4 separate regions of the Homo sapiens genome follow, and regions 2, 3 and 4 are each linked to region 1. The links are contacts of gene promoters, found by promoter capture Hi-C in human tissues and cell types (Jung and others, 2019). All regions are on one chromosome and are shown on one strand. The core of a region is centred on a gene start or on the middle of the fragment in contact, and the rest is flanking DNA. Distances in the headings are between cores, read along the strand shown. Region 1 holds the start of LMNB2 (lamin B2). Region 2 holds the start of AMH (anti-Mullerian hormone). Region 3 holds the start of OAZ1 (ornithine decarboxylase antizyme 1). Region 4 holds the start of LINGO3 (leucine rich repeat and Ig domain containing 3).

Region 1 (7,438 bases), core at 2,153-4,652:
ACATGCCCTGCAGACACGGCTGGGTGACAGGGCTCACGGAGGGGCCAGTGTGTCACCTGCTAAATGGCTGCCTTCACTGGAGTCAGACCCGCATTTCACCCAGCCTGAGTGAACTGAGTTGTAAAGGATGCTGCTGCGGCCCCGAGAGGTGGCTGGGCCAGGCTCCCTCTAGGGCACAGGGCCGGTCCAATGGGGCGTCCAGTGGGGCTGGGGCTGGTACCTCCCCAGCACTCACCAGGCCCTGCACCCTCAAAGCTCCCTGCAGCTGTTCGTCCCATTGGCAGGTGGGATAACAGAGGCCCAAAGACAAGAAACCAGCTCTAACCCTGCACGCCACGGGTCCAGCAGGCGGCCTCTAAGTTGGGACAACTCCGCACTGGACAGATGGCAAGATGGAGGCTCCAAGAGACACAGGGGCCTGCCCAAAGCCACACTAATTGAAAAGCAGGGGACTGGCCAGGCACGGCGGCTCACACCTGTAATCCCAGTACTTTGGGAGGCCGAGGCAGGCAGATCACCTGAGGCCAGGAGTTTGAGACCAGCCTGACCAACAAGGCCAAACTCTGTCTCTACTAAAAATACAAAAATGAGCCGGGCATGGTGGTGAACACCTGTAATCCCAGCTACTCGGGAGACGGGGGCAGGAGAATCACTTGAACCCGGGAGGCAGAGGGTGCGGGGAGCTAAGATCGCGCCACTGCACTCCAGCCTGGACGACGGAGCGAGACTCTATCTCAAAAAAAAAAAAAAAAAAAAAGAAAGAAAAGCAGGGGATCCCACCAAGCACTGATCTTCCTTCTACCTCCCTGAAGGCACCAGCTACATTCTTTCAGGTTCCCTGTCCCCAGGGCACTGTGAAAACAACCCACAGGGAGCTACTGAACAAAAGTTAACCTGCTGTGGCCCCACACACAAGTAAGAGGTGGGTATTATAATTACACCCATTCCAAAGGCGAGGGCACTGAGACCCAGAGAGGGTAAGCGACTAGCCCAAGGTCACACAGAGGGTAAGTGGCTCCCAGAAATGACCCGACCCCCTCAACAAGCAGCTCTTCTCCCAGAAGCCCACCACGTCCTCTGATCTCCAGATGGGCGAGTGGGGACTGGGCGCTGCAAATCCCGACTTCGGCACCCAGCTCTCCCAACAGGACACTGGGGCCTAGGGACCCCAGGACCCCAACCCATGGCAGGAATCAAGTGGGTGCTCCTGCCTGCCCCCCGTTCTGGAGTCCTGTCCTTGGATTGGGCATGGCCAGTGGGAGGGACAAAGAGCCTCCCCAGGGTTAGGTTGGGGGGCAGGACAGATTGCACCCAGACCCCAAGACACCCCGACCTCATGTCCCCTTGGTGGGCAGACTTTCCCGCCTCTTCTCCTTCAGTCTGCACTGAAGCCTCGGGGCCCATTCAGAACCTCAACACTTTCCACCGGACCCAAGATCCCAACTCTCACCCTTCCTTCATATTCTCTTGGGGGCAGAACCTGCCAGACCACCGCTGACACCAGGGCACAAATAAGGGACTCCCAAATTTCCCGTGGGACCCCAAGGTATCAGAACCTCTCCCTCGGCCCCCTACCCACCCTGGGCCTGGTGAGAGATGAGGGGCCTAATTCCCACCCCAGTCACCAATCTCTTCTGGATTCATCAGGGAACTCGCTAAAGCTCCAGGGAGAACTGAGACCACGTGACTCACCCCAGAGACTCCAGGGAGACCCCCCACACACCCCATCTTGGGCCTCCTCAGAGGGCCTGGGCCCCCCAGTCTCCTTGGAGCCCAGAGACCACCCCCATTCCACCCCAGATACCCCAATACCCAGCTTCATCCCCAGAGACTCCCACTCACACCCCCTCAGTTGGGGGGGGTCCGCCAAGTCTCCTTGGAATCCTCTGAGGGACGAGGCATATGGGGGGCTGCAGCCCAATACTCAGGGAGCCCCCAAATCCCCAGGACCTCTCTTTGGTGGGGAGCCCTAGTCTGTAACCCCCATGGCCCCAAAATGCACCTCTCACGGAAGGGTCCCCAGAGCTAGCTGGAGGCCCCTCTGCAGCCCTCACTCAGGACACGGAAGATCTCCTGGGACCCCCTCCATAGGTGGGGCATTCCTGGTCTGCACTTTTCACTCAGTGCCCTAGAAACCCCCTGGAGGTCCCCAAGAGAATGGGCCACTCCGGTCTGCACCCCTCCCAAGGGGTCCCCCAAGATCTCGGAAACTGCGGTGGGCAGGGCCTGCCCAGGTGGCACCCCTCACTCAGGGTCTCCCCCTGGAGATCCCCGAGGCCAGGCTGACCCCACCCCTGCTCAGGGTCCCCCGTGATCGCGTACTCCGCGGTGGGCTGGGCCTGGCCGAGCTGCACCCCTCACTCAGGGACCCCTTGAAACCCCCTGGAGACCCCCAAGCCGGGACCCTTCCCGGTCTGCACCCCTGCCCAGGGTCCCCGCGATCGCGCACCCCGCGGTGGCCAGGACCTGCACCCTTCATCCAGGAGCCCCCCGCAAACCCCCTGGAGACCCCAAGCCGGGAGTCGTTCAGAGTCCCCCGCGATCGCGCGCCCCGTGGTGGGCGGGGCCTGGCCGAGTAGCACCTTTCACTCAGGGACTCTCCGAAACGCGGCGGAGATCCCCGAGGCCGGACTGTCCCCGTCTGCATCCCAGCTCAGGGTTCCCCGCGACTGGGAGCCCCGCAGTGGGCTGGGCCTAGCCGAGCAGCACCCCTCACTCAGAAGCCCCCAAACCTCCTGGAGACCCCCGAGCCGGAGCCTGTCCCCGTCTGCACCCCCGCCCAGGGTCCCCGCGATCACGCACCCCGCGGTGGGCGGGGCCTGGCCGAACTGCACCGCTCACTCAGGGGCCCCTCGAAACCCCCTGGAGACCCTCGAGACCCGGGCCCGTCCCTGTCTGCACCCAGGGTCCCAGCGATTGCCCACCCCGCGGTGGGAGGGACCTGGCCGAGCTGCACCCCTCACTCAGGGGCCCCCCGAAACCCCGCGGAAACCCCCGAAGCCGGGGCCCGTCCCCGTCTGCACCCCCGCCCAGGGTCCCCGCGATCGCGCGCCCCGCGGTGGGCGGGGCCTGCCGGCTGCACCCCCGCCCGGCCCCTAAGCCCCGGCGCCCACCTCGCGCGTGGTCACCTCCTCCTTCTCTGAGATCTTGAGCAGGAGCCGGTCGTTCTCCAGCTCCAGCGCGCGGACGCGGTCGATGTAGTGCGCCAGGCGGTCGTTGAGCTCGCGCAGCTCCTCCTTCTCCTGCAGCCGCGACAGGCGCGTGGGCGACAGCGGCGTGGCGGGCCCGCCCGCGCGGCCGGGCAGCGGCGTGGCCATGGTGGCGGCGGCTCGCGGCCTGCGCTGCTCCCGACGGCGGCCCGGGCTCGGCGGGCTCATTCAATCCGCGCCGCCGGCTGCAAGATGGCGCCGCGCCGCGCCGCGCCCGCCGCCCGCCGCGGCGGGGCAGCCTGGGACTGGTAGTCCGACCGCCGGGCGCGCGCGGGGCACGCCGGAAGTTGAAGTCTCCGTCCAGCTCTCGCTTCGCAGAGGCGCTGACTCCAGAGACAGACTTCCTGGCTGCAAACTCCCAGCTCCGCCACGAGGAAACAGCGTTGGGTTGCTTTCTAGTACCTGTTTCCCCACTTAGAGAACCTCAAAACGTGTTCAAAGAACCAGACACAAAAGGCCATATAGGGCCGGGCGTGGTGGCTCACGCCTGTAATCCCAGCACTTTGGGAGGCCAAGGCCGGTGGATCACTTGAGAAAAGAATTTCGAGATCAGCCTGGACCACATAGGGAGACCCCCCCACACCATCTCTACTACGGAGGCGCGCGCCGGTAATCCCAGCTACTTGGGAGGCTGAGGCAGGAGAATCTCTTGAACTTGGGACGTGGAGGTTGCAGTAAGCCAAGATCGCGGCACTGCACTCCAGCCTGGGCAACAATGAGAAACTTTGTCTCAAAAAAAAAAAAAAAAAAAAAAAAAAGCCATATAGTGTACAATGCCACTGATATAAAATGTCCAGAAGAGGCTGTCAAGGAGTATGAATTTCAACAAATTGAGTTTAATGATCTCATTGGCTCTTATTAGCAATTCATGAATTGGATAGCATTCAATCTATTAAATAGGCACTCCAATGAGCTGAGCAGAGAGGATGGGCATTCTGCATTACAGGCAGAAAAGGCTGAAGAAAGGAGAAATAAGAATTAAAATAAAAGCCAGGCCAGGTACAGTGGTTTGCTCACGCCTGTAATGCCAGCACTTTGGGAGGCGGAGGTGGGAGGATAGCCTGAGCCCAGGAGTTTGAGACTGGCCTGGGCAACATAGCAAGACCCCATTTCTAAAAATAAAAATAAAAAAATTAGCCAGGTGCAGTGGCTCACACCTGTATTCCCAGCACTTTAGGAGGCCAAGCCGGGCAGATCATGAGGTCAGGAGTTCGAGACCAGCCTGACCAATATGGTGAAATCCCGTCTCTACTAAAAATACAAAAATTAGCCAGGCATGGTGGCACATGCCTGTAGTCTCAGCTACTCGGGAAGCTGAGGCAGGAGAATTGCTTTAACCCGGGAGGCGGAGGTTGCAGGGAGCCAAGATTGAACCACTGCACTCCAGCCTAGGCAACAGAGTAAGACTCCACCTCAAAAAAAAAAAAAAAAAAAAATTAGCTGGGCGCCTATAGTCCTAGGTATTTGGGAGGCTAAGGTGGCAGGATTGTTTGAGCAAGAGAGGTCAAGGTTGCAGTGAGCCCTGATCACATCACTGCATTCCAGCCTGGGTGACAGAGTGAGAGTTTGTCTCAAAAAAAGTAAAAATAAAAATACGAAATAAAAACCAATTGGTTGTTTCAAAGTTACTTTTTTCATAGGGTCTGTTTTAACCCCCTCTATTTTGAGGGTACTTCCCTATCAGGTTAACCGGTCCCCTTTGGCTTGGTGGCTGTGAATGTTTTTTTTTGAAAACCTGCACCCTTTAAAGTTCAGTTTGAGGCCAGGTACGGGTGGCTCTCACCTGTAATCTCAGCACTTTGGGAGGCTGAGATGGGGAGATCGCTTAAGCCTAGGAGTTTGAGAACATCCTGGGCAACATAGTGAGACTCTGTCTCCAAAAAAAAAAATTTTTTTTTTTTGGAGACAGAGTCTTGCTCTTGTCACCCAGGCTGGAGTGCAATGGCATGATCTCGGCTCACTGCAACCTCCACCTCCTGGGTTCAAGCAATTCTCTGCCTCCCGAGTAGCTGGGATTACAGGCACCCGCCACCATGCCCAGCTAATGTTTGTATTTTTAGTAGAGACCTGGTTTCACCATCTTGGCCAGGCTGGTCCTGAACTCCTGACCTCGTGATCCACCCACCTCGACCTCCCAAAGTGCTGCAGTTACAGGCGTGAGCCACGGCACCCAGCCAAAAAAATTTTTAATAATTAGCCACATGTGCTGGCACACACCTGTAGTCCCAGCTCCTCGGGAGGCTGAGGCAGGAGAATGGCTTGCATCCAGGAGTTCAAGTCTGCAGTCAGCCATGATTGCGCCACTGCACTCCAGTGTGGGCAACGGAGCGAGACCCTATTTCAAAAAATAAAAAAAATAAAAGATCAGTTTGACTACGTGGTACCTGGCACTAGTGACTCCATTCCAATTTTATCTGGTCTGCTGGGGACTAGAGACCCCATTGTCTAAAACAATGGCCTGCCATACATTTTATTTAACAAGGCCAGGCGCGGTGGCTCATGCCTGTAATCTCAGCACTTTGGGAGGCCGAGGCGGGCAGACCACCTGAGGCCAGGAGTTCGAGACCAGCCTGGCCAAAATGGCAAAAACCTGTCTCTCCAAAAAGTACAAAAATTAGCCAGGCGTGGTGGTGTACGCCTGTAATCCCAGCTACTTGGGAGGCTGAGGCACGAGAATCGCTTGAACCCAGGAGGCAAAGGTTGCAGTGAGCTGAGATCACACCACTGCACTCCAGCCTGGGCGACAGAGCAAGACTCCGTCTCCAAAAAAAACCCCCCAAAATTGTAATTTAACAAGACAACCTATACAGCAGTGTTTCTCCAACTCTGCACTAGATATTTGGGGCCAGATCACTCTCTGTTGCAGGGGGTTGGAGTCAGGAGGTGCTGTCCATTACAGGGTATTGAGCAGCATCCTCGGTCTCCACCCACTCCATGCCACGAGCATCCCAGCCTCATACTTATTTTTTATTTTATTTTTATTTTTAGTTGAGGCGGGTCTCGCTCTGTGGCCCAGGCTGCAGTGCAGTGGCGTGATCTCGGCTCATTGCAACCTCCGCCTCCCGGGTTCCAGCGATTCTCCTGCCTCACTCTCCCGAGTAGCTGGGATTACAGGCACTTGCCACCATGCCCGGCTAAGTTTCTGTATTTTTAGTAGAGACAGGGTTTTGCCATGTTGGCCAGGCTGGTCTTGAACTCCTGACCTCAAATGATCTGCCCGCCTTGGCCTCCCACGTTGCTGGGATTACAGGCGTCAGCCACCGCGTCCGACCCCGGCCCCCTAGTTATGAAAACCAAGTATGTCTCCAGAGATTGCCACATGTCACCAGAGGGGCAAAATTGCCCCAATTGGAGAATAACTTCCTCCTGACCTAGAACTGGCCCGGTCTTCCTTCTGCCTGGGGAACTCCTCCTTTTTACACATCTCACCTTGGGGGTTTGGCTCAGCCTCTGCCAGAGACCCCAGTAAATCACACACTGAGAATCTAATGCCCTTTCCAGCCTACTGAGGACACCAGGGGAAAGAGCCCACCTGCCTCCAACAGCCAACATTCACTCGCTATTATTCCCCTCTTACCAGATAGACCCCCAGCCTTAGAACCCAGGCAGGAAGCCTGGCATGGTGGCTCACACCTGCAATCCCAGCCACTCTGGGAGGCTGAGACAAGAAAATGGCTTGAGCCCAGGAGTTTGAGACCAGCCTGGGCAACATAGCAAGACCCAACTCTACAATACTCTACAGTTTTTTTTTTTTTTTTTTTTTTGGAGACAGAGTCTTTCTGTCCCCCAGGCTGGAGTGCAGTGGCCCAATCTTGGCTCACTGCAACCTCCTCCTCCTGGGTTCAAGAGATTCTCCTGCCTCAGCCTCCTGAGTAGCTGGGATGACAGGCATGCGCCACCATGCCTGGCTAATTTTTGTATTTTTGTAGAGTTTCCTCATGTTGGCCAGGCTGGTCTTGAACTCTGGACCTCAAGTGATCTGCTCACCTCGGTTTCGCAAAGTGCTGGGATTACAGGTGTGAGCCACTGCACCCGGCCCCTACAAAAAAATTTTTTTAATTAGTTGGTCGTGGTGGCGTGCATCTGTATCCCCAGCTACTTGGGAGGCCGAGTCAAGGAGATGGCTTAAGCCCAGGAGGTGGAGGCTGCAGTGAGCTATGATTGCACCATTTCACTCCAGCCTGGATGACAGCGCAAGACTCTCTCTCTCTTTTTTTTTTTTTTTGGCA
Region 2 (7,438 bases), core at 4,939-7,438, 210 kb before region 1:
TCATGCCTGGTCACTTGGAGACAGGCTCCAGCTTCCTTGTGTCTGTGCCTGTCCACAGTGGGCCTCAGCCTCCTGGAAGAGACTGGGTGCGCTATGGGGTGGCCCCCTCAGGGCTGGTTAGACCCTGGCGCTGGGAGTGCAGGGTGAGGGGCAGTCTCGAGGGCTCCAGCCCAGCCCGCCCAGGGAGGTCCCAGCAGCAGCCCCGAGTTCTGAGCCATCTTCCTCACTCTCCTCTTGGCCTCCACAGGTGTCTCCCAGTCTGCTAAAGCCCTAAGGCCATCACCATGGACTTCCAGCATCGCCCCGGGGGCAAGACCGGGAGCGGGGGCGTGGCCTCCTCCTCCGAGAGCAACCGTGACCGCAGGGAGCGCCTCCGGCAGCTGGCCCTGGAGACCATCGACATCAACAAGGTGGGCCAGCCACCGTGCAGCTGCCTGTGGTGGGTGCTGGGCTTTCCAGGGCAGCCCTGGAGAGGGTGCCAGAGGCTCTTCTTGGGCCTCCGCCCAGGCTGGGCGATGCAGCCCCGTGTCCAGACGCTCCCCTGTTGCCCCCGAGCAGCCACAGCTCCCATCTGTCCACCCCAGAGAGCAGACCCTCTGTGGCTCTGAGTCCCATGTGGACATGTTTTGTTCTGTCCACAGCCTTCTGTTTTGCATTATTTAATTTTCTGGGAGTGGGGAGAGCTGATGTCAGTCCAGCCAGATGTGGTGAAGGGCAGCCTTTGATTTTAGCTTGTGCAGAGGCAGGGGTGAGCCGAGTCCCCTCAGCACCGTGGACATCGGGGCTGGAGCACTCTTTGTGTACCCTGACATGCCCCACGGGCCTGGCCTATGGCAAGGGCTCTGTTACCGTCCCCGTCTTCCAGATGAGGTCATGGGTAGAGGGGGTGCCACAGCCGCAGATGGTGGAGTTAGACTTTGAACTCCAGCGTCTGAGACGAGATGTGTGCGCCCGGCTGCCCCAGCTTAGGGCCTGCAGATGGGCGGGTCTTTGGGTCTTCAGTGTAGCCCATTTGCTTTTCTTGTGCCTGTGTCTGCCTTGTGCCTACTGCTGGCGTGGTGGCGTGGGCAGTGGACGGCTCCCTGCCTCGGGAGTGACCGGCGGTGCTGTCCTGGCTGTGCCTCCCTCTGACTCAGAACCACCAGGAAGGTGGTGTCGGGGGCTCCCTGGGAACCCCCACTGCTCGAAGCCTGGCCCACAGCCCCAGGTGGTGACACCCGTGCTCACGAAGGCCTCCCGCTGGATCCCCCGTTTTCAGAAATGCTTGACCACTGTCAGCGGTAGCCATGCCTCTACAGAAGGGGGGTTCTGCCTCCATGCCTCTACAGAAAGGGGATCCCGCCTCTGAGGGCCTTGACGGCAGCAGGCCGCGATCTTCTGTCTAACGGGCCCCTGTTCTTCCCCTCCAGGACCCGTACTTCATGAAGAACCACCTGGGCTCCTATGAATGCAAACTCTGCCTGACACTTCACAACAATGAGGTGCGGCCTCTGCCTGGCTCCGGGCGGCTCGCGGCGGGCTGAGTGGCTGACGTCAGGGGGACCTGCCTGTGTCTGTCCGCCCGGCCTCGAGTCATGCGTGTTTCCTTTCCACTCCAGGGGAGCTACCTGGCACATACGCAGGGGAAGAAGCACCAGACCAACCTGTGAGTACCTCATGTCCCTTTGATGCCTGGTGCTCCAGCAGCCGTTGGCTCAAGTCTCTGTGAGCCTCGCGGGCCACTGCTCCACAGCCGGGGAGCCAGCCTGGCCTGAGCCTCCCTGGGCGCTTGAGTACGGTTCCTGGGGAGCATTAGAGAACAGAGGCATGGATGGCTGAGGCGGGCAGATCACTTGAGGTCAGGAGTTCGAGACCAGCCTGGCCAACATTGTGAAACTCCATCTCTACTAAAAATACAAAAATTAGGCCAGGCATGGTGGCACACGTCTGTAATCACAGCTACTATGGAGGCTGAGGCAGGAGAATCTTGAATCTGGGAGGCAGAGATTGCAGTGAACCAAGGTGCTGCCACTGTACTCCATCCTGGGCGACAGAGTGAGACTCTTGTCTTATTAAAAAAAAAAAAAAAGAGCAGAGGCATGGAGTTGTTGGAAGGGCCCCAGCCAGGGACAGTGAGGAGCATGACAGGAAGAGAACATGCCTGTCCTATCCCTGTCCTCAGCCAAACCCCAGGGCCCCTCCCAGGCCCCTGGCCCTCCTCATCTCTCAGCTTGTAGTGAGCTCCAAGGTCAGGGGGCTCCTGGCACCTGGGCCCATGGCTTTGGTGCCTGTGTGTGGAGGGGTCCCAGCAGCACCTCCATCCTGTCCGCAGGGCCCGGCGAGCAGCCAAGGAGGCCAAGGAGGCCCCTGCCCAGCCCGCGCCTGAGAAGGTCAAGGTGGAGGTGAAGAAGTTTGTGAAGATCGGCCGCCCGGGCTACAAAGGTGAGTCTGCCCGCAGCGGGGCCGGCCACAGCCGCTGCCGTGACATAAGTGTGTTCTTTAGTCTCCAGTGCGGGAGGTGCAGCCCTGATAGCCTCCTCCCTGAGCCACTGTTTTCCGGCCTTGGTGGCCGTCCCTCACCCACCTGCAGCCTCTGGCGTTGTGTCTGGGAGCTGTCAGGCTGGGCCCGATAAGCACCCATCTCACCCAGCAGCCCATTTCCCAGCTGAGCCACAGTCTGTGCCCTCCTGTCCGGGTCTTGTGGAAGCTTCTGGGAATTCTTGCCAAGCAAAAGAGTGGAAGTGGAGGTGTGGTGAGCCCTGGCACATCCCTCCGGTTAACCTTGAAGCCTTTGAAGGAGGACAGGGAGAAGCGGCTGTTAGAGGCAGCTCCTCCCGGACCCTCAGCAGTGGGAATGGCTAGAGGTGACCCCGGTTCAGAAAGCTGGGGAAGTGACCAGGGTGGAAGATAGAGACTTGTGTCCATAGGGTTCAGGAAGGCGGGCACGCTACCCAGCAAGTGTTCTTTACAGAAGGCGGGGACAGCCTGTGTGCCTGGCCTCCAGACAGAAGCCTGCAGGGCAGAGGTCCCGGGGCAGGTGCACCGGGTGGGCGAGGGTGGCTAGAGCGGCAGGCTCCTGGTGGGGAGGCCCTGACAGGTCCTGGGCTTGGGCTCAGGACGGTGAGGCGGCAGAGGGCTTGTGAGTGTGCGTGTCTGAGGCCGCATGGAGAGTGGCCGGGCGGCAGGCAGCCCAGCAGCCATTCTCGGGGTCCAGGCTGCTGAGCTCTGGCGGGAAGGGCATCCTCTCTCGCTCACCGTATACATGGTGTCAGCCCTGTTCAGGCGGCCCCGCTCGAATCCCAGAGCCAGGGTGCCGAGGGCCCCTCCCTACCCAGTGGCCCCAACTCCTGCTGGGTGGTATCCCAGCACCCCTGGTGAAGGGCTCTGGGGATTGGGACAAAGGAGCACCATCCTCGGTCCCTGCCTGAGTGACTCCGCAGGTAGCTCAGCTCTGGCGCACCTGTGCCTTCACCTATACCAGAATCCCAGAGCCTGGGCGGAGATTGTCTAATGGTTGCCAGAGCTGCAGGGCCTCCCCCGGGGTCCCGCTCTCGTTCAGTGGGTGGCATTAGCCTGCCCCAGGTTCCTCAGCTTCGGAGAGGACAAGCAGCCGGGACCTGAGAGCTTTCTGTGTTGCAGTGACCAAGCAGAGAGACTCGGAGATGGGCCAGCAGAGCCTCCTCTTCCAGGTGAGATCAGGGACTTGGGCGTGGGGGGCGGCCAAAGGCACCCAAGAGGCGGCTCTGCCACCCGGCCGTGTCCCTGCAGATTGACTACCCTGAGATCGCCGAGGGCATCATGCCACGTCACCGCTTCATGTCTGCGTACGAGCAGAGGATCGAGCCTCCGGACCGGCGCTGGCAGTACCTGCTCATGGCCGCCGAGCCCTACGAGACCATTGCCTTCAAGGTAGCGTGGCTGCGGGGTTCCCTGGGCCCCCTTGAGATGTGCAAGCCAGAAGGATCTGCATAGGCTGGGCAGGATGCCCCTCCCATCGGGCTTGGGGTCCCCTGGGCCCCCCCCAAGTCGGAGCCAGAAGGGTCTGCACAGGCCGGGCAGGGCACCTCTCCCATTGGGCTCTGCAGGAGGGCCTGCTTGGGCTCCACTGGGCCAATGAGAAGGGAGGCCGGCAGGGCTGAGCGCCAGGCCTGTGAGGCCTTTGCCAAGTGACCTCACTTCCTGGGCCAGGCTGCTGGAGGGCTTCCTACAGCCTGTCCCCATGCCTGGACAGGGCGGCCATCAGGAAACAAATAATACAAACGGTGACTGCCCAGGGAGGGGGCCAACAGCGTGCTAGCATTGAGGCCAGGTCTGTTTCACTCCAGAACTGAACCCTGTGCCCCACGAAAGTCTTACCAGCCTTCTCCTGGGCTCCCAGGGTAGAGTCCGGGCTGGGGAGGCTAGTGCCTCGGGCTCCCTGCCTGATGGTCGCCCTGAGGTCACAGGGACCAGGAGCCCTCTCTGTCCCCCGCCCTCCCAGGTGCCGAGCAGAGAGATCGACAAGGCGGAGGGCAAGTTCTGGACACACTGGAACCGGGAGACCAAGCAGGTGAGTGGCTCGCCCCGAGCCTGGCTCCTTCCCACCCAGCCCTGGCGGCCCTAGCCCTGCCCTAGCCCCACCCGTGCCTGCTGAACCTTTCTCCGTCTCTCTAGTTCTTCCTCCAGTTCCACTTTAAGATGGAGAAGCCCCCGGCTCCACCCAGCCTCCCTGCTGGCCCCCCTGGGGTGAAGCGGCCTCCACCCCCGCTGATGAACGGTCTGCCCCCTCGGCCACCGCTGCCTGAGTCTTTGCCACCGCCCCCGCCAGGAGGCCTGCCTCTGCCACCCATGCCCCCCACAGGGCCTGCGCCCTCAGGGCCCCCGGGACCACCCCAGCTACCCCCGCCAGCTCCAGGGGTCCACCCCCCGGCCCCAGTGGTGCATCCCCCTGCATCTGGGGTCCATCCCCCAGCTCCTGGCGTCCACCCCCCAGCTCCTGGCGTCCATCCCCCAGCCCCTGGGGTCCACCCACCAACCTCTGGGGTCCACCCCCCAGCTCCTGGAGTCCACCCTCCAGCCCCCGGGGTTCACCCACCAGCCCCCGGAGTCCACCCACCAGCCCCTGGGGTTCACCCACCAGCCCCAGGGGTCCATCCTCCCCCATCAGCGGGGGTTCACCCCCAGGCCCCGGGGGTGCACCCAGCAGCCCCCGCCGTTCACCCTCAGGCCCCAGGGGTGCACCCACCAGCCCCAGGGATGCACCCTCAGGCCCCGGGGGTCCACCCCCAACCTCCCGGGGTCCATCCGTCGGCTCCTGGGGTCCACCCTCAGCCTCCGGGAGTTCACCCCTCAAATCCTGGGGTGCACCCCCCAACTCCCATGCCCCCAATGCTGAGGCCCCCACTTCCCTCCGAAGGCCCAGGGAACATACCTCCCCCTCCCCCAACCAACTGAGAAGCTGCTCCCTCCCCCAGCAAGCCCAGCGCCAGGTGCTCTTGCCTTTTCCCACTGAGAGAAGGCTGCTCTTTTGTACTGCCCCCCGCTCATTAAACAGCCTCCCCCAGCCCTGAGTGCACTGATGTCCGCAGCGCCGCCCTACTGTGTCAGTGTGTGTGGGAGTGCCAGGCACAGCACCATCCCCCAGTTTGGGCCGACTGGGGAGGGCCTGGGGCCCGCCAGGAGACACCTGTGGGAGGCCTGAGAGATGGCTGTACCTTGGAGATGGCCTGGTGGAGGACAGACCCCACCAGCCAGCTAGGAGGGGATCTGGGGTCCTGTTCTGGGGAGGGAAGAGCAGACTCCACGATATCCTTGGGGTCTCCAGATAGCCCACCAGGGGTGGGGAGGGTGAGCAGGGACAGGGCGCCCCCACTGACTTGGGACCCTCCTCCTCCAGGCCCACACCTCAGCACCCAGGACATCTGGGCCCCCCGCCCCCAGCGCTGTCTAGTTTGGTTGCCTGGCCGTCACTCCCAGCCTGGTTCCCACTCCTGTGTCTTCTGGGGATGGCCCTCAAGGACGGCATGTTGACACATCAGGCCCAGCTCTATCACTGGGGAGGGAGATAGGCTGCCAGGGACAGAAAGGGCTCTTTGAGAAGGCCACTCTGCCTGGAGTGGGGGCGCCGGGCACTGTCCCCCAAGGTCGCGGCAGAGGAGATAGGGGTCTGTCCTGCACAAACACCCCACCTTCCACTCGGCTCACTTAAGGCAGGCAGCCCAGCCCCTGGCAGCACCCACGATGCGGGACCTGCCTCTCACCAGCCTGGCCCTAGTGCTGTCTGCCCTGGGGGCTCTGCTGGGGACTGAGGCCCTCAGAGCAGAGGAGCCAGCTGTGGGCACCAGTGGCCTCATCTTCCGAGAAGACTTGGACTGGCCTCCAGGCAGCCCACAAGAGCCTCTGTGCCTGGTGGCACTGGGCGGGGACAGCAATGGCAGCAGCTCCCCCCTGCGGGTGGTGGGGGCTCTAAGCGCCTATGAGCAGGCCTTCCTGGGGGCCGTGCAGAGGGCCCGCTGGGGCCCCCGAGACCTGGCCACCTTCGGGGTCTGCAACACCGGTGACAGGCAGGCTGCCTTGCCCTCTCTACGGCGGCTGGGGGCCTGGCTGCGGGACCCTGGGGGGCAGCGCCTGGTGGTCCTACACCTGGAGGAAGGTATGTGGGGCCCAGCCCCAAGCTTGGCACCGCCGTCTTCCTTCAGGTGGGCCGGGTCCTCCTAGGGAAGATCAGGGGCTGGCAGAGCCCCCACCCTGGGCAGGGAGGCTGTGGTCTTGTTCCTAGGACTGGGTTGCGGGTCCGTGGCCTGGAAGGTGGGCACCACACTCTGTCCTGTCCCCGAAGCCCAGCTCTTAGACTTGCCCCTGCCTCGGTGCCAGGGAGAGAGCTGCTGCCTTCTCCCCACCCCTGAAGACGACGCAGGGCTCGGGGCCAGTGGAACCCTTCTTCCCACAGCCCCAGCCTGTTCTCAGGGCCGCTGGCCTAAGATACTCCCTGCGGGGAAGGGGCTTCATCGGGCACCCCAACCCAGAGACCCCAGGGCGGCAGCCCCACCCACAGCCTCAGACGCAGCCCCTGCCTGCCCCTGCCGTCACCGCTCCCTGGCTGCAGGAAGGCAGCTAAGAGGGGCACCCTTGTCCCCCGCTTGAGGTCCCCTGCACAGTGGCCAGAGCGGCAGGGACAGATCCCAAAGATTCCCGGGGGGTGTGGCCTTCAATGGCTCAGGCGTCCCCTGCTGTCCCGGCTGCAGTGACCTGGGAGCCAACACCCTCGCTGAGGTTCCAGGAGCCCCCGCCTGGAGGAGCTGGCCCCCCAGAGCTGGCGCTGCTGGTGCTGTACCCTGGGCCTGGCCCTGAGGTCACTGTGACGAGGGCTGGGCTGCCGGGTGCCCAGGTACCAGGGAGTTGCATGGGGCAGTGCCCGGGCCGTGGCGGGGGGCATGGATTTGTTGCAGGGTCTGCAGTACTGAGAACAGCGTAGAACCAG
Region 3 (7,438 bases), core at 3,343-5,842, 190 kb before region 1:
AGGCACCCACCACCGCACCCGGCTAATTTTTGCTGTATTTTTAGTAGAGACGGGGTTTCACCGTGTTAGCCAGGATGGTCTCGATCTCCTGACCTCGTGATCCGCCTGCCTTGGCCTCTCAAAGTGCTGGGATTACAGGCGTGAGCCACCACGCTTGGCCATTTTCCTGCTTGCTTTCATTTTTTTTTGAGACAGTGTCTTGCTCTGTCCCCCAGGCTGGAGTGCAGTGGTGTGATCACAGCTCACTGCAGCCTTGACCTCCTGGGCTCAAGTGATCCTCTTGGTTCAGCCTCCCAAGTAGCTGGGATCACAGATGCCCACCCAATCCCAGCTAATTAAAATTTTTTTAATTTTTTAAAATTTCTAGAAGTTTTTAAAATTCTCAACAAAGTGAGAACCTAGAGATAGGGTCTTGCTATGTTGGCCAGGCTGGTCTGCAACTCCTGGGCTCAAGCGATCTTCTTGCTTCAGCCTCCCAAAGTGCTGGGATTACAGGCGTGAGCCACTGTGCGCGGCCCCAATCCTTCTTTATTTTTACCTGTTTACATTTTATTTTATTTAACTCATTATTATAATTCTTTTAGAGACAAGGTCTCCCTCTGTCACCCAGGCTGCAGTGCAGTTGAGAGACCATAGTTCACTGCAGCCTTGACCTTCCTGGCTCAGGGGATCCTCCTGCCTCAGCCGCTGGAGTAGCTGGAACTACAGGTGTGCACCACCATGTCCCTAATTTTTAAATTTGCTGCAGAGATGGGGTCTGGCTATGTAGCCCTGGCTGGTCTTGAACTCCTGAGCTCAAGCGATCCTCTTGCCTCTGCCTCCCAAAGTGCACACCGGGCCCACATACCCTCTTTTAAATCAGAGTCAGCCGGGTGCGGTGGCTCACGCCTGTAATCCCAGCACTTTGGAAGGGTGAGATGGGTGGATCACCTGAGTTCAGGAGTTCGAGACCAGCCTGACCAATATGGTGAAATCCCGTCTCTACTAAAAATACCAAAATTAACTGGGCCTGGTGGCGTGAGCCTGTAATTCCCAACTACTTGGGAGGCCGAGGCAGGAGAATCACTTGAACCTGGGAAGGGGAGGTTGCAGTGAGCCGCCGAGATCATGACCCTGAACTCCAGCCTGGTGACAAAGTGAGACTCTGTCTCAAAAACCAAACAGCCAGGTGCGGTGGCACACCTGTAATCCCAGCACTTTGGGAGGCACGTAGATCATGAAGTCAGGAGTTTGAGACCGTCCTGGCCAATATGGTGAAACCCTGTCTCCACTAAACACAAAAATTAGCCGGGAATGGTGGTGCACGCCTGTAGTCCCAGCTTCTCGGGAGGCTGAGGCAGGAGAATCGCTTGAACCCTGTAGGTGGAGGTTGCAGTGAGCCAAGGTTACGCCACTGCACTCCAGCCTGGGCTACAGGTGAGACTCTGTCTCAAAAAAAAAAAAAAAAAATCAGTCCATCAATCAATCAATCAGAGTCATACTCTCTGCGTCCTCTGCCAGCAGCCGTATCCCCTCAACCTTGATTTCAGAAGAAAACCCAGGCATGGGCCCTCTATCCTTGACCACCCCACATCCTCTGCTGTCCCTTTCAGACAGTTCAAGCCTCACCACCTCCAGAGAAAGATATGCCTCTTTCTCTCCCTGCTGTCCGGGAGGCCCCTCACCAGTCACAGACTCCCCAGCTCCCAGCAAAGCACCTCCCACCCTGGGGAGTTTCTGGGGAACCCGGCCAGGTGGGCCAGCAGGGCGCAGTTGCTGATCCTAGCGCTCATCCCACGTGGCCTGGCCAGTGTGGGGGTGGCCCTTCTAGAAGCCTCACAGCATTGGCAGGCGGCCATCAGAGGCAGGCAGGAGGAGGAAGTGAGAGCTGCTGCAGTCAGGATGGAGGGATGGGGCTCCCTGGTCGTGGCTGTTCTGGAAATCGCACCGGTGACCTGTTCATTTCGAGCAGGCTCTTGCCTCTGTTCCCAGAGGAGGTCCTCAACTTAGGGGCGTCATTCTGCCCCCAAGGGACATTGGATGATGTTTGGGACATTTCTGGTTGTCATGACTTGGAGTGCTCCTGGCATGGAGTGGGTGGAGGCCAGGGACGCTGCTCAGTACCCTGCAGTGCCCAGGACGCTGCAGTCCAGCCTGGCAACAGAGCGAGACTCCGTCTCAAAAAACAAAAAAACAAAAAAAAAAGCAATCCACACCCTGAGTGGGGAAGGAGAGAGGAGAAGCATCCCAGGAGCTGGGGCCCTCCTGGTTCATACCATTTGCCCAGGATGCCCCACCCCAGAGAACAATCCAAGCCCAATGTCCACGGGTCCGAGGGAGGAGACCCTGAGTTAATTATTTGAAACAGAGTCTGTTCTCTGCTCACACCAGACACCAGAATAAACTCCTTTTTTTTGAGATGGAGTCTCGCTCTGTAGCCCAGGCTGGAGTGTAGTGGTGCAATCTTGGCTCACTGCAACCTCCACCTCCCGGGTGCCAGTTCAAGCAATTCTCCTGCCTCAGCCCCCTGAGTAGCTGGGATTACAGGCACGCGCCACCATGCCCAGCTAATTTTTGTATTTTTAGTAGAGACGGGGTTTCACCATGTTGGCCAGACTGGTCTTGCACTCCTGACCTCGTGATCCACCCGCCTCGGCCTCCCAAAGTGCTGGGATTACAGGCGTGAGCCACCGTGCCCAGCCTCAGGATAAACTCCTAATGGGGCAAACGGTATAAACCAGGAGGCCCCCAGCTCCTGGGATGCTTCTCCTCTCTCCTTCCCCACTCAGGGTGTGGATTGCTTTTTTTTTGTTTTTTTTGTGACAGAGTCTCGCTCTGTCACCAGGCTGGAGTGCAGCGGCGCCATCTCAGCTCACTGCAACCTCTGCCTCAAGGTGTGGATTTCAACGTGCGCAGTCTCCTGGGACCTCAGCAGGGCAGAGGATCATGGGATGCAGAGTCTCTTGGGGGGGTCCGTGGAATCCCCTAACTCGGGAGTCTCACCCAGGGTGATTCTGCCCCCGCCAAGGGACACTGGGTGATGTCTGCGGATACTTGTGGTTGTCACAACTGGGGGTGCTCAAGGCATGGAGTGGGTGGAGGCCAGGGACGCTGCTCAGCGCCCTGCAGTGCCCAGGGCGGCCCCAAATGTCAACCGCAGGAGTTAATTTCTGCCTCAACACCTGAATAGCGAATGCTCGTAGCAGAGATGCAACAACAGCCTTCTGGTGCAGTACGAAATCTCGAAAGACAGGCAGGCGCGGTGGCTCACGCCTGTTAATCCCCAAACTTTGGGAGGTCGAGGCAGGCGGATCACCTGAGGTCAGGAGTTCCAGACCAGCCTTGCCAACATGGTGAAACCCCATCTCTACTAAAAATACAAAAATTAGCCGGGCGTGGTGGCGGGCACCTGTAATCCCAGCTCCTCAGGAGGCTGAAGCAGGAGAATCGCTTGAACCTGGGAGGCGGAGGTTGCAGCGAGCCGAGATTGCGCCACTGCACTCCAGCCTGGGTGACAGCCAGGCCCGGTCGCAAACAAAACAAAATTAAAACCATGAAAGGAATCAGGATTTGCCAGGAGTAGCATTTTTGCTTGGTAAGAACAAAATTTTGTTTATACATGAAATAAAAAATATTTTATTAAACCTCACTGCAAAGTGGCAACTTTTTGCTAAATTCATAATTTAGTCTACACACAAGCTATGTACCCGTATGTGACTGCCAAGAGTTATATCTTTGCTTATTAAAAGCAAAGTGCAGTTCATACCTGAGATTTTTTTTCTGGATTTAACCAGGAGGGGAAATATTTTTGCTAGGTAAGTCCACATTTTACCTCACAGGCGAAACAGTTTACCGAACTTGACCACCAAAGAAATCGTTTTTTCCTTGGGAGATCCACATTTTAGTTCATACATGAGATGTGTTTCTGAATTTTAACTGCCAGGAGTAGTGTTTTTCCTTAGGGTAAGTTTCAGTTTCCACAGGAAAAATCTGAATTTATCTGCAAGGAGTAAAATTTTTGCTTAAGTCCAAATTGTACACGAAATATTTTACTAAATTTGAATATCTTTAACATTGGAAGTTCTTTTTTTTTAAACACTGGAAGCATTTTAAGAACTGCAAGACCAAATTTAAAAAAATAAAACCAGTAATATCATCGATGATTACCAGGTGTTACTGGAAATAATTCTGGCGCGGTTGGACAACCCCCCAAGCACCCGGGGGCCTACCCAGGGGAGGGGTCCCGCTGCGTGAAGGGACCCTAGGGAGGGCGACGTGGACCACGACAGACAAACGGGCACTCGAAGACCCCCGAAAATCGGCCCCAGCGAGCCGCCCCCGCCCCCAAGGCACGATTGTGGGGGCGGGGACGGCTCGGGGCGCGCGCAGCGCGTACCCGGCGCCACGGCAGCCCCGCCCCCAGAAGGACGCGCGCAGGAGGGGGCGTGGCCCGAGGCTCACCAACCAATCTCCAGAGAGCCTCTTCCTTTCCCTTTCCCTTTCACCAATCAGGCGCTGGGAGGGGCGGGCGCGACTTTTTTTCCCGGCGGCCCCGCGGCTCTGCCCCTCGTGCGGTCGCGTTCCCGGCGGCGCGGGGGGCGTGGCCTGGGCGCAGCATCTATAAAGGCGGGCGGCGGCAGAGGCGCCATTTTGCGAACGGCGAGCAGCGGCGGCGGCGCGGAGAGACGCAGCGGAGGTTTTCCTGGTTTCGGACCCCAGCGGCCGGATGGTGAAATCCTCCCTGCAGCGGATCCTCAATAGCCACTGCTTCGCCAGAGAGAAGGAAGGGGATAAACCCAGCGCCACCATCCACGCCAGCCGCACCATGCCGCTCCTAAGCCTGCACAGCCGCGGCGGCAGCAGCAGTGAGAGGTAAGTGCCCCGCCCCCGTCCGAAGCTTCCAGAAGCGCCGGCCGCGCAGGCCTGCGGGGGGCCGTCCTCGGGGCGCCAGATAGGTCCCCGGCGCGCGAGATCCGCCCCTTTGTCAAGGCCAGAATCGCGCCGGGGACGAGGTAGGCGCAGGGCGGGCCTGGAGGTCCCCCCCGGCCTTAGCAGTGCTCTCGGGGGAGTCGGGTTTGGGGGGCAAGGGTGCGGAGTTGGATTTGGGGGGCACCGTCCGGGGCGCCTGATTTGCGGGAGGGGCATGGGTCGGAGGTCGGATTTGGGCGCAGGACGGGGAGTCGGGGGAGGCGTGTGTCTTTTGCGGGGTTCGCGGGATGGGACTCGGCTTCGGAGGAGGGGAGAGGCTTCTGGTCGAGGGTTGGATTTGCGGGGCGCAGACTGGGAATTCGGTTTGGAGGAAGGGTGTGCGGTCGGGTCGGATTTGGGAGGCGCAGGATGGGGCAATCTGGTTGGGGGCGGGGTCGGCCTTGGGGGGCTGGTCCGCGGACAGGCAGGGCCCGCGGGGCTGGTGAATCTGCACTTTTCGGTCCCGGCCGTCGAGCGTGCGCTGCGGGAGCGGGGAGCGCTTTGCGGTGGACGAGCTCCCGCGGGTCCCTGTTGCCTCGATGTGGCCCCTGCACGCGACGGACCTCGTGGGCCCCGTTTTTCGCCCCTGAGCGAGTCGGTCTGGATGGCCCGGGACGCGCCGGGCGAGGCCGCGCACGTAGACGGCACCCAGGGCTTCTCCGCGGGGGCCGCCGGGGAGCTGGGGGTGGCGCACTCCGACAGCCCGGCAGCGCCCTGGGAAGACCCCCGCCGCTTCCCGGGAAGACGCGTCCCGCTTCCGGGGGCGCGGGTGCCAGCTGCGGTTGTGGGGGAGCCCGCGGGGTCTCGGTCGAGCTTTCCCGACTGCGTCCCCCGAGGTGGGCGTCGCTCAGCCCCGGATCGGGAGGTTGGGCCGCGGTGCTGGCGGTGCCGCGGTTTGGGGGCCGTGCAAAATGGAGGCAACTTTGGGGCCTGTTTACCCTGCGCAGCAAATGGCTGCTGGCGCTGCCGGCTGCGCGATTGTGAAAATCTCCCCCGGGGCGCGAGGCCGCGTCTGCCTGGATGACGCAACCGGGAGGGCCCGGGCCTGGAGCGGGGGCGGGGGGGCGGGCGGCCGGGAGCCGGAGCGGGGCGCGTCCTCCATGAGGTCAGGCTAGGCCCGCCCGGTCTTCGCGGGGACAAGCAAGAGTCCCAGATTTTGGCCGTAGTGCAGGGTGGAAAGGGGAAGCCGCGACAGAACTGAAAAGGGGAAGCGCTGGCTGTCTTGGTGGCCGGGGGGTGAGGCTCTGCCCCGGCGGGGCTGCGTGAGGGGAAGGGGCCCCCCGCCCTGGGAAGGTTGGGCTGTCCTGGGCGGCGCCGCCCGAGGAGTCGGGGCTCAGTGACTGCTGCCCTTGTAGGTGCTTGGGGCAGGCGTTGGAGCTGCCTTCGGGAAGCCTCGGGGGTGTGGGACCGGGTGGGCCCCTGCCTGGGCGGGGCGGGGTCTTTTGGCCGAGGCAGGGGTGGGGATGTGCTGAAGGCCGCCCGGACGCCCTGGAGGGGTCTCCGCCCGGAGCCTGGCGCTGCCTCGTGACCTGCATCATCTTCAGTTCCAGGGTCTCCCTCCACTGCTGTAGTAACCCGGGTCCGGGGCCTCGGTGGTGCTCCTGATGCCCCTCACCCACCCCTGAAGATCCCAGGTGGGCGAGGGAATAGTCAGAGGGATCACAATCTTTCAGCTAACTTATTCTACTCCGTGAGTATGGGGCCGGGCCTGCTGGGGCTGCTCTGGGGCCACAGGTACTTTCTTGTGCACCTTGCTGCCCGTACCTGTGATTGAATGTAATCGTGGGAACCCTGAGTTTCATCAGAGCCGGCGCACAGTCTCCTGCAGCCCAGGCGTTGCCTGAGCTCAACACGGCCTAGGCCCAAGCTTTAGCGCTGCCGGGTTCTTGGAGTCCTGTGGGGTGAGTCAGGGTTCTGAATTGGGCTGCACCCCCTGGACAGGATGATCGGCTGAATGTAACAGAGGAACTAACGTCCAACGACAAGACGAGGATTCTCAACGTCCAGTCCAGGCTCACAGACGCCAAACGCATTAACTGGCGAACAGTGCTGAGTGGCGGCAGCCTCTACATCGAGATCCCGGGCGGCGCGCTGCCCGAGGGGAGCAAGGACAGGTGAGGGGCAAGGACAGGCAGGGAGTGCTCACCCAGGGGAGCAGGGACCAGGTGAGGGGCAAGGACAGGCGGGGAGTGCTCACCCAGGGGAGCAGGGACCAGGTGCGGGTTGCTGCCCAAGGGGTGCAGGGACAGATGAGGGAGGGCACTGCCTTCAGGCAGCACATATGGGGGCCACCATCGCTTTGTTGGTGGGGACAGGGTCCCCCCTTTTTTTTTTTTTTGAGATGGAGTCTTGCTTTTGTTGCCCAGGCTGGAGTGCAGTGGCATGATCTTGGCTCACTGCAACCTCTGCCTTCCGGGTTCAAGCGATTCTCCTGCCTCAGCCTCCCGAGTAGCTGGGCTTACAGGCGCCCGCCACCGATGCCCAGCTAATT
Region 4 (7,438 bases), core at 2,471-4,970, 150 kb before region 1:
ACATGGAAAAAGGGCCTCTGCAGATGGGATTAAGTAAGAATTGTGAGATCAGGAGATCATTCCGGATCATCCAGAGGCCCAACATCTCACAGGGTCCTCACGAGAGGAGGCGGGAGGGTGAAAGTCAGAGACTGGAAGAGGCTGTGCTGAGGCTATGAAGGGATAGGGTGGGGCCCTGAGCCAAGGGATGCGGGTGCCTCTGGGCAATGGGAAAGATGGGAACCGGATTTTCACCTGGAATGCGCAGCAGGAGGGCCCAGCCTTGGCCATGTCCTGCTTTTTTTTTTTTTTTTTTTTTTTTTGAGACAGAGTCTCGCTCTGTCACCCAGGCTGGTGCGATCTTGGCTCACTGCAACCTCTGCCTCCCAGGTTCAAGTGATTCTCCTGTCTCAGCCTCCTGAGAAGCTGGAACTACAGGCATGAGCCACCACGTCCGGCTAATTTTTTGTATTTTCAGTAGAGATGGGGTTTCACCATGTTGGCCAGGCTGGTCTCGAACTCCTGATCTCCAGTGATCTGCCTGCCTCGGCCTTCCAAAATGCTCAGACTACAAGCGTGAGCCACCACACCCAGCCTCATGCCCTGGTTTTACGCCAGTGAGGCCCATTTTGGACTCTGGCCTCCAGAACGGTGCAATAATAAATGTGTGTGGTTCCCAGCCACTGCTGTCACAGCAGCCAGAACTCATCAGGGTCATTGCAGTCTTGAAGAGGGAGGTCGCTCGAGGCCTCCCGGATCTGTGCACCTGCCTTCTGGGGCGTGGAAGGCAGGGGACATTGACCTCTCCTTGGGGTCTGAGATCTGCACCAACCACGGTGCAGGCACCGGCCTTGAGGACCCCCTCCCCAAAACTGTCCCCCACAGCAGGACCTGGGCAATGGAGGCCTCTCTTCCCTGTACCCCCAGCTGTCCTTAGATATGGATCCTGGATTAATGGTCCTGGAAGCTCTTAGCTCAAGGAGAAGGCAGAGTGTGGCTGTGAGTGGCCGGGGTCCCTCCCTAGAACAGAGGTGGCCCTACCCTCTTGGTGCCTGGTGGTGTGGGCAGCTCCTTCCCTCAGCTCCTGGCTAAGCCCCCGGCCCTTCCAATCCGCCTCCTCTATTCTGAGCAGGGCTCTTCCCCTCCCTCTTGCAAGGTTACCTCAAACACATCCCCCTCCAGTCCCCGCCCAGGGCAAGGGATGCTGACATCTCCCTTGGGAAAGGCCCTCCTAGAGGCCGGCCAAACCCAGAGGGGGCAGGAGTGAGAAGTGTGGTAGCGGTCCCCTCTGTTTCCAGGCCCACAGTGACCTCCATCTCCCTCCCTCTGCCCCCCACCACAACCAGGGCGGTGGGAGTAAGGGGAGTGTGCTCTGGATGCCCCGTTTGAGCTTCTAAGACGGATATGGGAGGAGGGGGCCCAGCCCCTCACAGCACGTGGCCCTCCAAGGTCTGCTTTTGGGGACACGCTGCCAGTCCCCCAGGACCCCTGCATCCTCTGCCCTAGATCCAGGCCCTCCCGGGGCTTCATCCATGACAATTCATTAAGCCCTAATTAGCTTCCATCTGCTGTTAGTCCCCGTCAACCCCTCGAGGGGCTGGGGGCCTCCCGACCCACTTTCCTTCCCAGCCTGTACACGGGGGGCCGTGGACTGCCCTCTGCAGGCAGGGCCTCTGGATCTGGAACCAGTTTTGGAGCACCCACTGTCTACACCGGCCACTTCACCCACTAGCCCAGCCCTGACTAGGGGGAATAATAAAGTTCGTTTTGGAGAGAAGGAGACTGAGGGTCAGAGTGGGCCCCAGCTCACTGCACAACTTAGCTGCAGACAGTCAGCATTTGAACCTGGATCTGACGCCAGCTCCTACCCACAAAATCCCAGCTCCCCACTAGAGGGTGAAGGGCGCTCTTTGGAGGCCCGAGATTGACATGTGGTGGTGGGCGGCTTGATGGGGCCCACCCGGGGCCAACTTTGCTCGCAGAGTTCTTCAAGAGGCTCTACCTGGTGACGAGGTAGTGACTCAGGGGGCGCCGGGGAATGACAGTGCTGTGGGAAGAGACATCAAACTGCCTTCTATTCCCACTCAGCAAGGCACCTTCAGGTCCCGGCTTACCCTGGGGGTGGACGGCTGAGGCTGAGGGAGGCCAGGCAGGGCTGCTGCCGTAACCATCGTGACCTGAGCATCTGTTTTATGGTGGCACCACACTGCAGCCGAGGTGGGCAGCATCTCATTTAATCCCATGTGGGGTGGATCTGAGAGAGGGGACGTCATTTGCCGGAAGTCACCGGTGAAGACCAGACAGGCAGGGCAGGGAAGGCTGAGTTGAACCCTCCTAAGCCCCCATCCCACCGCCCGGCTGCCCCCTTCCTGCCACCCCACATCATCGAGATGGGGACAGGAGCTGGGTCTACAGGGGAAGCCCGTGGGTTCTTCCCACTCAGATCCTGTCTCCGACGATGGCTGCTGCTTCGGCTCAGAGAACAGCCAGGGTAAGGCCATGCCGCGGCAGCCCACCCCACACCAGCCTCCTGATAAAGCCAGCACCACCCTCCCTGAACCTGTTTCCAGCCTGCGTCCTCCACCTGACCACTCACACCTCACACCTTCTGCATCCTCTCCAGGCCACTTCCAGGGAGCCCTCCTGGGTTGCTCTGGTTCTCACAGCTCTGTTGTCCCTGAAGGCTCCCCCCAGCCAAGCCCCAGATCGTCCCTCTGCAAATACCACTGCACAGCAGACGCCCGCTCCCCACCCCCGCCGGAGCAAGGGTGTCTGCAGCCTCGCTGCGTCCATGGTTTAGCCAGGGACCGCTTGCTAAAATGCAGCTTCTGGGGCACATCGCCTCAGAAGTTCTGACTCCTCAGAACTGGGGGGGCCGGGACACCGGCACCGTTAGCGCCCCAAGCACACGTTGAGAAACCCAGTTACATGGTGGTCTCCAGCGTAAGGACCCGGGGCTTTTCTTGTGCCCGGACCAAGGCACGAGGTGCTGCTCCCCTAAACTTGTTGAATGGGACTCAGGGCCTCCCCTGGCCAGGCCCCAGAGGCCCGGGAGGTGGCGGCACCCACTCAGGGTGCCCAGGCCCACCATTTCTGGTGCTATTCAGACGCCCCCAGAGCAGGGGGACTCAGCCCTATGCCCCCAGGTCCCTCCCCGCCAGGCCGGGCCGTCAGCTCCAGCGATGGAGCAGGCTCCGGTGTGGACCCCAGATACCCTTTGCGTCTTCCAGCTCCGCACCCCCAGGCTGGACCAGACCCGGCTCGGGGGAGACAGGGCAGGAAGGCGCGGGCTGCAGGCTCTATTCGGACGTTCCCCACACCCCAGACCCAACCAGTGCCCCCTTCATCTCCTCCTGGAGAGGAGCGCATCCTCCCAGCGTCCCCAGTGCCCCGGGGAGATGCCCACCCGATTCCCCGCTCCTTGGCGCCCCAGAGGAGGGGCGGGGGGCCCCAGGGTGGGGAGTTCGCCCCCAAAGTTTCCAGGGGGAGCGTCGGGGGCCTGGCAAGGAGCGATGAGCCCGGGAGGGGTGCGCGGGGCAATTTCCCCCGGCTGAGGATGGGGTCGCGGGTTGGGGGCTTTGGGCGGCAGGGTCGCAGGGTGCAGGTGAGGGGTCCCCAGGTCTGCGGGCGCGCCCCACGCCGGGCCCCGGCACGGCCACTCACCTGGGCGGCTCCGCCGCGGACACGGCGCGGGCTGCGGCGCGGGGGCCGCCCGGAGCCGACACGAGCAGCCGCCGCCGCCGCCGCCGCCGCCGCCGCCGCCTCCCGGGCTCCGCCGTGCGCGCCGCCGCCGCGCGCAACCGCCCGCCGGTCTCCTCGGCGCGCCTGGCGGGGGCGCGCGGGGGCTGCGCTGGGCCGCGTGCGCGGCGGCTGGGGCCGCAGGTGTGAGAGGCCACGTGGGCGCAGGTGCGGGGACACTGGGAGCGCGGGTGCAGAACCCCTCCGTGCGCATCCCGGGCGCTTCGTGTCCGAGGACCTCCTGTCCCCACGGCCTGGGTGAGCCTGCGGAGACGGCCGTGCCGTGCAATAAACGCAGGGGCACCCCAAGTGCAGCAGGTTGTTCCGTGTGGAACCTTCTGGAAGCTACCATCGCCTCCTCTGCCCCCCGTCCCCCACCCCTAGTCCAGGCCGCCACCATCTGCACCTGGACATCTGCCACAGCCCAGCCCAGGCCCATTCCTTATGTGGCCCTCAGAGGAAGCCCCTCAGAGGAAGCTTAGCCACTGGGCTCCAGAACCTGCCGTGATTCCCTATTGCCGTGAGGGTCCCGTCTGCACCCCACCTACCCTGGAATTTCTCTTTCTTTCGTTCTTTCTTTCTTTCTTTCTTTCTTTTTTTTTTTGAGATGGAGTCTTGCTCTGTTGCCCAGGCTGGAGTACAGCGGTGCCATCTTGGCTCACTGCAACCTCCGCCTCCTGGGTTCAAGCGATTCTCCTGCCTCAGCCTCCCAAGTAGCTGGGATTACAGGCACCCGCCACCACGCCCGGCTAATTTTTGTATTTTTATTAGAGACGGATTTTCAGCATGTTGGCCAGGCTGGTCTCAAACCCCTGACCTCGGGTGATCCACCCACCTCGGCCTCCCAAAGTGCTGGGATGACAGGTGTGAGCCACCGCCCGGCTGCCTGCACTGTTTGGTCTGCCGCACCACCTCCTTCCCCCTGGCCTGTCCTCACTCACTCTTTCCCGGGCTCCACCCCCTCAGCCTTCCTCAAACAGGCCAAGTCCCTCCAGTCCCAGGCCTTTGATCTTCGCTGTGCCCAGCTTGGACAGCCTTTCTCTCTGTCCCTCCATCGAGCAGCTTGGAGCCTCTCAGTTTGTCTAATGGGCTTGTTCCCCAATGTGCCTTCCGCCTAGCACACAGCAGCGCACACACCAAGTGCACTGCGAGTGCTCATGGAAAGTTTTTTACCTTTTTTTTTGTCTTTTTTTTTTTTTTTTTTTTTTGAAATGGAGTTTTGCTCTCGTCACCCATTCTGGAGTGCAGTGGTGCAATCTTGGCTCACTGCAACTTCCACCTCCCGGGTTCAGGCGATTCTCCTGTCTCAGTCTCCCAAGTAGCTGGGATTACAGGCGCCCATGACCATGCCTGGCTAATTTTTGTATTTTTAGGGGAGATAGAGTTTCACCATGTTGGCCAGGCTGGTCTCGAACTCCTGACCTCAGGTGATCCACCCGCCTCGGCCTCCCAAAGTGCTGGGATGACAGACGTGAGCTACTATGCCCGGCCCCTCACTGCATCTTCTAAAAGCCACATTTAGCCTCCCTGTCTCACAGATGAGCAAACCAAGGCTGGGAGATGCCATTTGTCCCAAGTGAGGGGTGAGAAGGAGGCCTCGGGAACCTGTGTGTGTAACCTTGCCCTGTCTGCCCCCTTCACCCACTCTGCAGTCCTCCCCACCAGCTGTGTATTCCCAGTGGCTTTGGCGGTGGCCTGGCACTCACGCAGCCACCTGTGACTCAAGCAGGCTCTGTTCCCAGACTGTCGCGTTGGCTGGAGGCCCAGAAACCGCATCCCTGGGAGGCTGCAGGCCAGGCCCCCCACAGGATGCTGTGGGGGGCGGGTATGGTTCAATTCCTGGCCCCAGAGAGGTCCAGAAGGACTTCATGACACCCCATGCTCTCCCCACCAAATGGCCCTGGGCTGCTGTGCTGTGTGACCCCAGTAGGGGAGGTCTCCTTCTCTCTCTGAACGTGTTTCTTTCTCTGTAAAGTGATGCTCCTGATAGCTGGCTCTCAGGGCTCTTGGAGGAAGGTGTTCATTGAGCACCTACTGTATACCAGGCCAAGGGCTGGAGGGAGGAGGAGGAGACGCTTCCAGCCTCAAGGGGGATTTCTTCGGACAGAGGGAGCAGATGCCTGAAATATGAAATCGTCACAAAGCGGCGTGGAAGAGGCAGTAGTGACACCGGGTCCCGGACCGAAGCCAGGGGCCAGGGAGGCTTCCCGGAGGAGGAGACACTTGCTATGAGTCCTGGAGGGTGAGGGATGCCAGCTGGGGTCCAGTCGAGGCCCTGCCTGTGTAACCGTGGGGGATGTCCCTCTAGCCTCGGTCTCCACCTCTGCAAAATGGAGATCGGAACAGTTCCCATCTTCTCCCGGGGCTGCAGAGACTCTGCAGTGGTTCTGCCCGGTTTGTGGCCAGTGCTCCCGAGCCCTTGGGGGTGGAGATTGGGCCAGGCTCCTACTGCAGGGCCTGAGCACGGGCTGCTCCCTCTGCCTAGAACGCCCTTCCCCCAGACCTCTGCCCGCCCCTTTCCCCCTCTTCACTCGCGTCTCCACCCCGACCTTCCATCTCTCCCTGCGTGGCACATGCCTGCTAAGATGTCCAGTAATTTGCTGATGGGTCCAGTGCAAGCTCTACCCTCTCTTCTTTTTTTTTTTTTTTTTTGAGATGGAGTCTCACCCTGTCGGTTGCCCAGGCTGGAGTGCAGTGGCGCGATCTCGGCTCACTGCAAGCCCCACCGCCCGGGTTCACGCCATTCTCCTGACTCAGCCTCCCGAGTAGCTGGGACCACAGGCACCCGCCACCAGGCCCGGCTAATTTTTTTTTGTATTTTTAGTAGAGACAGGGTTTCACCATGTTAGCCAGGATGGTGTCAATCTCCTGACCTCATGATCGGCCCGCCTCAGCCTCCCAAAGTGCTGGGATTACAGGCGTGAGCCACCGAGCCCGGCCCCAGCCTTTTTTAAGACAGGGTTTCGCTCTGTCACCCAGGCTGGAGTGCAGTGGCGCAGTCATAGCTCACTGCAGCCTTGAACCCCCTGGGCTCAAGTGATCCTCCTACCCCAGCCTCCCGAGAAGCTGGGACTGCAAGTGAGTGGCAACACACCTGGCTAATTTTTTTATTTTTTGTAGAGATGGGGTCTCACTAAGTTGCCCAGGCTGGTCTTGAACTCCTGGCCTAATGTGATCTTCTCTTCTTGGCCTCCCCAAGTGCTAGTATTACGGGTGTGAGCCACTGTGCCCAGCCCAGTCTTGTAATATTATGTGTCCATTTACTCCTCCCCAAAATGATGAGGGATTAGTTTTTATTATTATTTTTTAAGAGACAGGGTCTCATTCTGTCACCCAGGCTGGAGTGCAGTGGTGTGATCATGGCTCACTGCAGCCTGGAACTCCTGGGCTGAAGTGGTCCTCCTGCCTCAGCCTCCCAAGTAGCTGGGACTACAGGCATGTGCCACCACACCTGGCTTTTTTAAATTAGCTTTTTTTATATCTTGTGAGACAGAGTTTCACTCTGTTTGCCCAGGCTGGAGTGCAGCGGTGCAAATCTTGGCTCACTGCAACCTCCACCTCCTGGGTTCAAGCAATTCTCCTGCCTCAGCCTCCCGAGTAGCTGAGACTACAGGCGCATGCCACCAGGCTCATTAAATTTTTGTATTTTTAGTAGAGATGGGGTTTCTCCATGTTGGCCAGGCTGGACTAGAACTCCTGACCTCAAGTGATCCGCTCACCT

The links. Contacts are between HindIII fragments. The study calls those that stand out against the background at their distance.
Region 2: the fragment with the promoter of AMH here is called in contact with the fragment with the promoter of LMNB2 in region 1 in 2 of the 25 tissues and cell types used here (dorsolateral prefrontal cortex and spleen).
Region 3: the fragment with the promoter of OAZ1 here is called in contact with the fragment with the promoter of LMNB2 in region 1 in 1 of the 25 tissues and cell types used here (dorsolateral prefrontal cortex).
Region 4: a contact is called between the fragment with the promoter of LINGO3 here and the fragment with the promoter of LMNB2 in region 1, in 5 of the 25 tissues and cell types used here (aorta, dorsolateral prefrontal cortex, small bowel and 2 more).

The regions. Positions count from the first base shown.
Region 1 is chr19:2,453,557-2,460,994 of GRCh38, forward strand. It overlaps LMNB2 (lamin B2), which reads right to left and starts at 3,403. Exons shown (of 12, transcript NM_032737.4): 1 at 3,114-3,403. The coding sequence starts at 3,377. LINC01775 (long intergenic non-protein coding RNA 1775) reads right to left here. Exons shown (of 2, transcript NR_134931.1): 2 at 5,381-5,544. RefSeq lists enhancers at 1-40, 41-655, 712-1,422, 1,423-2,131 and silencers at 2,392-2,571, 2,802-2,891, 2,952-3,201, 3,322-3,501. The HindIII fragment of the contact is 70,551 bases long and covers 1-7,438 here.
Region 2 is chr19:2,243,135-2,250,572 of GRCh38, forward strand. It overlaps AMH (anti-Mullerian hormone), which reads left to right and starts at 6,189. Exons shown (of 5, transcript NM_000479.5): 1 at 6,189-6,610; 2 at 7,203-7,345. The coding sequence starts at 6,199. It overlaps SF3A2 (splicing factor 3a subunit 2), which reads left to right. Exons shown (of 9, transcript NM_007165.5): 2 at 248-410; 3 at 1,410-1,481; 4 at 1,599-1,645; 5 at 2,312-2,421; 6 at 3,619-3,668; 7 at 3,748-3,888; 8 at 4,460-4,528; 9 at 4,633-5,521. The coding sequence starts at 285. The coding sequence ends at 5,412. RefSeq lists enhancers at 204-781, 2,446-2,946, 3,200-4,277, 3,576-4,077, 6,132-6,271 and promoters at 3,200-6,198, 4,133-6,167, 5,919-6,198, 5,989-6,198, 6,167-6,198. The HindIII fragment of the contact is 11,600 bases long and covers 1-7,438 here.
Region 3 is chr19:2,264,894-2,272,331 of GRCh38, forward strand. OAZ1 (ornithine decarboxylase antizyme 1) reads left to right here and starts at 4,593. Exons shown (of 5, transcript NM_004152.3): 1 at 4,593-4,851; 2 at 6,492-6,637; 3 at 6,889-7,061. The coding sequence starts at 4,706. It overlaps LOC105372240 (a long non-coding RNA gene), which reads right to left and starts at 4,360. Exons shown (of 2, transcript XR_936242.3): 1 at 4,209-4,360; 2 at 3,600-3,979. RefSeq lists enhancers at 1,627-1,796, 4,292-4,906 and silencers at 4,160-4,649, 5,615-5,674, 5,885-6,084, 6,095-6,434. The HindIII fragment of the contact is 6,913 bases long and covers 1-5,845 here.
Region 4 is chr19:2,304,434-2,311,871 of GRCh38, forward strand. LINGO3 (leucine rich repeat and Ig domain containing 3) reads right to left here and starts at 3,721. Exons shown (of 2, transcript NM_001101391.3): 1 at 3,643-3,721. The HindIII fragment of the contact is 18,961 bases long and covers 1-7,438 here.